Regions from separate parts of the Homo sapiens genome. Here region 1 is linked to region 2. The links are contacts of gene promoters, found by promoter capture Hi-C in blood cells and fetal thymus (Javierre and others, 2016). All regions are on one chromosome and are shown on one strand. The core of a region is centred on a gene start or on the middle of the fragment in contact, and the rest is flanking DNA. Distances in the headings are between cores, read along the strand shown.

Evidence for each region. Contacts are between HindIII fragments. The CHiCAGO score rates a contact against its expected background, and 5 or more counts as called.
Region 1: a contact is called between a fragment that was not itself captured here and the fragment with the promoter of LSM8 in region 2, in 1 of 17 cell types (naive CD8 T cells). The highest score is 5.6, in naive CD8 T cells.

What each region holds. Positions count from the first base shown.
Region 1 is chr7:121,385,123-121,388,797 of GRCh38, reverse strand. The region is part of intron 1 of FAM3C (FAM3 metabolism regulating signaling molecule C); the gene reads left to right. Among named protein-coding and RNA genes, the nearest start is that of FAM3C, 9.3 kb to the left of the region's middle. RefSeq lists a silencer at 3,301-3,498. The HindIII fragment of the contact is 1,003 bases long and covers 1,666-2,668 here.
Region 2 is chr7:118,182,706-118,186,346 of GRCh38, reverse strand. It overlaps LSM8 (LSM8 homolog, U6 small nuclear RNA associated), which reads right to left and starts at 2,183. Exons shown (of 4, transcript NM_016200.5): 1 at 2,093-2,183; 2 at 653-693. The coding sequence starts at 2,123. LOC105375470 (a long non-coding RNA gene) reads left to right here and starts at 2,379. Exons shown (of 4, transcript XR_927904.3): 1 at 2,379-2,432. The HindIII fragment of the contact is 4,305 bases long and covers 1,107-3,641 here.

The sequences.
Region 1 (3,675 bases), core at 918-3,417, 3.2 Mb before region 2:
CATAGTATACTTCTAATTCTATTTCTGTTTCTTAGCCACATTTAGATGTTCTCTTTTAAATGTAATTTCAATATGATGCTACTTAAGAAAATAAGAAAAGCCAGATGATGTTGATTCAGAAAACTGTCAAAAATCTAGGCATAGATCATCTGTATTCTTTTCCCAAGATTTTCAATAGAACATTAAACATTTATTTTAAAACTCTTATTGGTTCACTTGACCCATTGTTTATAAGTTTTTGGTCTGTTGCTTTTTGGGGGACACTTTGCAGAAGGAGTGGATACATTTACATCATAATCATTGGTGATCTTTTGAAAAATTTGTCATTCCTAGTATTATAGAATTCATATGGATCACCTCTCCCCACACCCCCAATTTTGTTTTTGTTCCTTTTTTTCCCTTTTCAAAATGTGAGTTTAGCTTGATTCTTTAAAAATCTGGGATACTTTTCTAGTTGCTGGTAGTCATGTAAAAATCTCCCTTTATTTGTGATCAAGTCATACCCACCTCTGAAGCTGTACAACAGGAGTGTGTGAGTGTGTGTGTGTGTGTGTGTGTGTGTTAAAATGGTGGTTTCTTTTAAAAGAGTGTACCTTCTAGGATTCGGTATCCTGCTAGTATTAAATACTTTCTCAAGTTAGTAACTAGATTTTTCTTTCAAGCCTTTAGTGTTAAAAACACCAAATTTTGTTAAATTTACAATATTTCTAACACAATGATAGCAGCTCAGATATCCTACTGAGTTTTTAAATGTTAATATTTTTTCAAATGAATGCAGTCATCTTATTCCTTTCCATTTTGTTATTTCAAAAATGTAGCCAGCTTTGCAAAGATGTGTGTATAGTTGCATTCAGGGGAGACAGGGTACTTGACAGCCGTCTGCATGTGCAATAGTAATAACTTGTTATTAAAGACAAGGTTTTTTAAAGCTAAATATTTGGAATTTTAGAAGTTTGTTAAGCATTAGATGCACATTTACTTCACTCTTTTTTTAAACCTATCATAAAAATAATCCCATATAAACACCCACATAAAGGAAATAGTAATGTAAGTTTTTTCCCAAGAACATAATTTTTATAGTTACTGAAGTGTAATATAGTGAGATTAATTTTTATTGGTTTCTTTACATTTCCTGGGATTGGTTTGGAAACATAACAGCATCTAGATTTGTTTCCACCTTTGCTATAGATGGATAGCTTCATCTACAGGATGGGAAGGACTTTTTTCTTCCTTTTGAAGAGGATCCATTCTGTTGTTTCTCATGGAATTATGCTTCTTTCTGTGGAGAGCAGATTATGAAAATGTTTGATGAACACGTGTGGAGCACAGAAATTAGGATTGTTTCATCTGTCCTACATCTGTAGTAGTACTTCTAAGAGGACCTGTCAAAGCCATGTGGAAGTTGTATGTCCTACACGTAGCCCAGCAAAAAAAGTTGGACTGTTAGAGCCTGGTTGGGAAAGATGTTTATTCCTTTATTTTTAAATTTTATATTTTTATTTCTTTTTATTAGGGGTTGACAAAGTACAACCCCTAGGCCTGTATGGCCCACAAGCCAAAACTGGTTTTCACATTTTTAAGTGGGTTGAAAAAAAATCAAAAGAATAATTTTGTGACACATGAACATTTTATGAAATTTAAATTTCAGTGTCTATAAAGAAAGCTTTATTAGAATATAATTAGACTCATTCGTTCACATGTTGGCTATGGTTGCTTTCTAGCTACAACTGCAGAGTGGCGTAATTGCAGTAGAGATTGTATGGTCCATAAAGCCTAAAAATATTTACCATCTGGCCCTTTTATAGAAAGAGTTTGCCAACAGTTGCCCTGTTTTACTCACATAAAAGTAGTTATTTATAGCAAACACAGTATTTTTTAAAAAATACCATGCTTTTGTTTGTAAATGCAACATCGGAGTAACCTACCCTAGTGACTCTTTGAGTTGTAGCATTCTTTTGATTTTAGTATTATCTCATTTTTCTCTTTTACTTTAAATGCTCTGGGGATAAAAATTTAATTTTTTACATTCTGTTCTTGAGGGGGTCTGTATTAGTCTGAGTTCTATAGAAAAACAGAACCAATTACATATATATATATATATATATGTGTGCGTGTGTGTGTGTATGTATAGATATAGCTCTAGATATATAGACATATATTCCTTATAATACATGTGGAGATAGCTTCATTTATATACAGGTATATGATTTGTATGTGCGTGTTTGTGTGTGTGTGTGTATATGTTTATTATAAGGGATTGGCTCATGAGATTATGAATGCTGAGAAGTCCAAGATCTGACAAGTTGGCAAGCTCTGACAGTCCAGGAGAATGAATGGTATAGTCTGGTCTGAGTCTGAAGGCATTGTCTCAGTTTAAAGATAGGCAAAGAAGGCGAATTCTCCCTTACTTATTAGAATCCCTTATTATTAGAATCATGGGAACTTTCTAAGTTGGTTGGGTTAAAATTGTCATTTGTCCAGCACTGAGTTGAAGTAGGATTGAATTGAATGATAGTTTCTCTATTTGTAGAGGATAACTTGTGGTATTTTCCTGTGGTTTAATTAAGTGCTGTTTGTTAATATTAAGTAGGTACATCAAAGGGTGTATTTGTACGTTTAATTTTCTTGTATCATTTCCATTTCAAGGAGGGGTTCCAATACCCAAGCTTAGTCATTTTGCCATACTGTTGAATTGCTGGAGTGGGTAGTTTGTAGCAATTCCCAAAGCAGTTTGCAAAAGCCAAGTTGATTGGCATGACATTTTGTCAACAAGCCTCTTATATTAGAGTGTGTCAGTGAACAGCTGGAGTGAAAAGGAAGTGGATTTGTTTGTAGCGTGAGCTTCTTACTTACCCTTCATGTGACCCTAGAGAAATCCCCTGATCTCATATATGCTGCTGTTTTAATGCCCCCAGCAACTAGAGGCTGGTGGGAAGATTACATAAAATAAGGGTGTGTGTGAATTGCACTGACATAAGTATGTATTCATACTTGGTTTATGTTAACTGGCAAGAAATCCCCCTCCTGGTAAATAATTTTTTATGACAATTTTGTCAATATAGAGTGATGTTTCTGTGGTTTATGTGATTTAGTCCACTTCCCAAGGAAATAATGGAAGTATCACTTGACCTTTGATTTTACTCTGTTGTTCCTGAAGTTAATTTATTCTAGAACAATGACTCCTTATTCACATAGTAGCTTGATTTCTACCTGAGTAATAAAACTTCACTAAATTAGATCAGAGTAGATAGTGGGGCCAAAGGAATGTTTAAATTGTCAACCATGTAAAGAAGTTTAGTACGTCCATCTGAGGCCCTAGTTCAGGCGCTCTTTCCAGCTGCAGTGTTTCATTGTCCAGCGACATTGTGGTGGCTGTCCTTGCTGTTGAATCTCAGGTGATTATGAACCTTACATATTAGCAACTGGATTTGGTTCAGTGACATATATTTATCAAAAACACTAAAACAAATTTTGGCCTATGTAACACTTTTTGGAGCAAATGTATAAATGTACTAAGTTGAGTTTTGGGGTTTTTTTTCCATCCTAAAAATATCCTTCTGTGACTCATTTTCTGGTTTTGGTAAGTGGCTCTAATATCTATATTTCTACCTTTTAATGAACATACTTATATATAAGCCCTTTCGCCTGTTGCCTCTAGATTTAGAGTTCTGAATT
Region 2 (3,641 bases), core at 934-3,433:
ATGAATTGTAAGTGAAGAAATAACCAAGTACCCAAAAATCTTGAGATGAATTCCTCAGATCAAATTCCAAATACAAGTATCACTATAGGAACGTTTTATCTTAGTTATATGACATAAATTAGCAAGGGAGAAACAACTTCAAGGAACAAGCCAATTTTACATATATATGTGTATATATAGAGAGTCAATCATCATAATGTGTCCTACAGAAGACATGTCACACAACCTAAAAACAAAGAATATTAAGATTGTATACAAGCCTTAAATGTTATCTAGATATTAATAGTATCTAAATCATTAAAAAGTTACTAAGCATATGCAAAATTTCAAAAAAATTCTGATTCATGTGGTGCTGAATGGGGAAGGAAATAAAAATGGAAGAAGAAAAGTAAGTTTAATAAAGGTCTACAGACTAGGAGCTCTCTGAGGGCAGAATCTATTATTCTAGCTCCGAGAAACCTTGTAGGTAACACACAATGTTTATTAGTGAGGAAAACATGGATTGACAGCAAAGTGATAAAGAGCTGAATTATAATAAAATTGCACTACGGGTGTAATGTGCTGTCTAGGCATTAGAGATTAGAGGTTTCACATAAAACTTGCAACCAATAAACCTACAGGAAAGCAGAGAATGAAAATTCCAAAGACTTACCACAATCATTCTCCCATCTGATGTAATAACGGCAACAGTTCCTGATAACTGAATCAAAGAAAGTGTTTCTTAGGGAATGCAAATTGAAAACAGACTCTGGCAAGGGAATGATTTGAATTTTTAGAATAAATATGACAACTAGGTATAAGTATTCAACACAGCCACTAAGTTCACTACATAAAAACGTTAAAAGTTTCTTAGACGCCAAGGCAGGAGGATCACTTGAGGTGAGACCAGCTTGGGCAACACAGCGATACCCCCATCTCTATTACCCTGGCCTGGTGACCTATAGTCCCAGCTACTCAGGAGGCAGAGGCAGAGGCAGGAGGATTGCTTGGGCTCAGGAGTTCAAGGTTGCATTGAGCCATGATCAAGCCACTGCACTCCAGCCTGGGCAACAGAGTGAGACCCTCGACTCAAAAAAAGAAAAAAAAAAAAAAACTTAAAAAAAGCTTCTGTTTTTGTCTTTGTGATAATTACATGATTAAAAAAGGGAAAAAATAGAAAAAGAAAACCTCTTTCTGTATGTGATCGGTGTATCTTATCTCAAAATATCCTGGATTTTTGACACTTTTCTACTAGGAAGGTTACCAATCTATTATTTCAGGCAGGATATTTCGTTTCTTAGGCCTGTTTATTTCTAAAATGAAAAGTGGATGAGTACTAAATTAATCGATGTTGGACGATTTTCCAGCATGTTAAAAAACTGTCTTCCAGGACAGGCTTCTGTAATTCAAAAGTAAAGAAACTATATAAGCAGTGTCACAGGGTACCAATAACGCATCATTAAAAGCATTCGGTATTTAATTTTTGTCACCCAGTTTGTACCTGAGCTTAACGTAGTGTTTTTGTCCTAAGACTTTAAAACGGTAACACTTGTAAAGTCTATTTTAAGACTTCCCATGGGGTTGTTACTTGCTCCTCACTATAATCCATTACAACAGCAACCATTTTTTTTCATTCTACCAACAAGTTGGGACTTCAAGTGGTAAAGGGACAGAAACAGTCTGTGAACCATCGTTAAACTTTTTGCTATCCTCGAACGAGCAAATTATGTGAATAAAACAAGTACAAAGATTTGCAAAACTGTTGTCGCCGCCAGGACGACTGTTCATCTTATTCACAAACTTTAACACTTATGCCATAGGGAAATAGTAAGTAAGAATCAAGAGCGTACATTTTTTTTAAGACAGAAAAGTTCGGAATAATCACACTGGGTTTTTATTTGGGTTTTGCAGGCAAAATGGAAAGGACCCCTGGGCCCGCAGCAGCGGGAAGGCTCGAGGCGCCGCCGGCGAACTCTGGGTCGTTCCGGGGCCCTCATCTCCTCGCCCGCCCCCAGGATCCCGCCGAGGCCAGGCCTCCCAACCTCCCACCGATCCCCGACCGCGGCCTCTCCGCGACCCCGGCTCACGCCCGCGGCGGCCAGCTTGAGGATACGGTTGATGTAGTTCTCCAAAGCGGACGTCATGCTGTTCGGCCCGGCGGTTCCGGGTAACGCAGCGGTGCCGACAGCAAGCAGAACTGAAAGGGCGCGCCAGAACCCGGCAGCGGATAGCGCCTGCGGGTCGCAGCAAATATCGTGAGAGTTGCTGCTCCGCAGCCCTGTGAGTCGGAAATTGGGACGAACTGGCCAACCAAACAGAAGCCGCACAGCGGTGACGAGAGAGTGCGCGTGCGCAGTGTGTTTTCTCTGTAATTCTGGGCCGTGTTCCGGAAGCCTCGTAAGACAAAAGCGAACGAGAGGCGGAAAAAAGGAAGACGCTTCCTGAAGTTGGGGGTATGAGACAGAAGTTGGGGGTATGAGACAGAAGTTGGGGGAGAGTGGGTTTCCAATCCGAGTAAAAGGCAGTGTGGTGGAAGTTAACAAGAGAAAATGTTGAGACGAGGTAGAGCAGGCAGGAATAAACGAAGTAAGGTGTTTTTATTAGGAGTGAAGGAGAGAGACGAGTGCTGTTGTGTGAAACGTAGGTGCGGGTAGTTGAATCCCTAGTTTTCTGCAGCAGAAGCCGAAAATAACGCTAAAAATAAGTTCAGTTGCCCGGGACAGAGTTGCGCACGTTATAACCACACGGTGTACGCCTCTTAAGAACTCAGCAGTGAAATACACTTTCGTATGTTCTGCTTTTGTCTCTAAAAGTGTTCCAAAATGGAGGTGTTTTTACTTTTTAAAGAAACTAAATGCAAATAGGCAAAGGTGTGTGACCATCCCTTAGAAAACGAATGTCCACGCTTCTGCCACGCCAGGATGGTCTACCTTTCTTCAGGGTGAAATTAGTAAGTAAAAGGCTGCTGCAGCACCGAGAAAGGACCGATGCAGGAAGGATGCAGGAAGGCACCAAACTTGGTTCTAATCTTGGCTCTGCTAACAAATTGGTGTCATTGCACAGGTCACTTCAATTCTTCTGGGCCTCAGTTTCGTTAGATAGTCCCATAGGTATCATTTCAGATATTTCCCAATGCGATACTGTTCCCACTTCATTTACTGTTGCCCTAACTTGAGAGAGCTTGAAGTTAGAAAGAGATTTATACACAAAACACCAGCAGGAGCGATTTCCCTTTTTTGCAAAATATCTTTATAATTTCAGTTAAACATGTATTTTCTTAAGATTTGTGGCTTTGTAATAACTCTTGCAATGTCAGCAGTTTTCCTCGGAAAAGGAAGCATTTCTTAATTAGAGCATACCCACAAGATACTCCCAAATAGTTAATATTTTATATTCTGGAACTTATTCCTATCTGTTTGAAATCAAATGTAGTCAGGAATTAGATTGTGAATGTCTCATATTCTCAGGGTAACAAATGAAAGTGTCTTCCGCTAATGAAAGAACAAAGATAATTGTGTGATTTGCAAATGTTAGGTGTTGAACCAAAACCCAAAGACTAATTAATGATTAACGAGGTGTTAGGAGTTTTGTTAAAAAAAGAAATTGCTGGGCATGTTGGTGGGTTCCTGTAACCCCAGCTACTCTGGAGGGTGAGGCAGGAG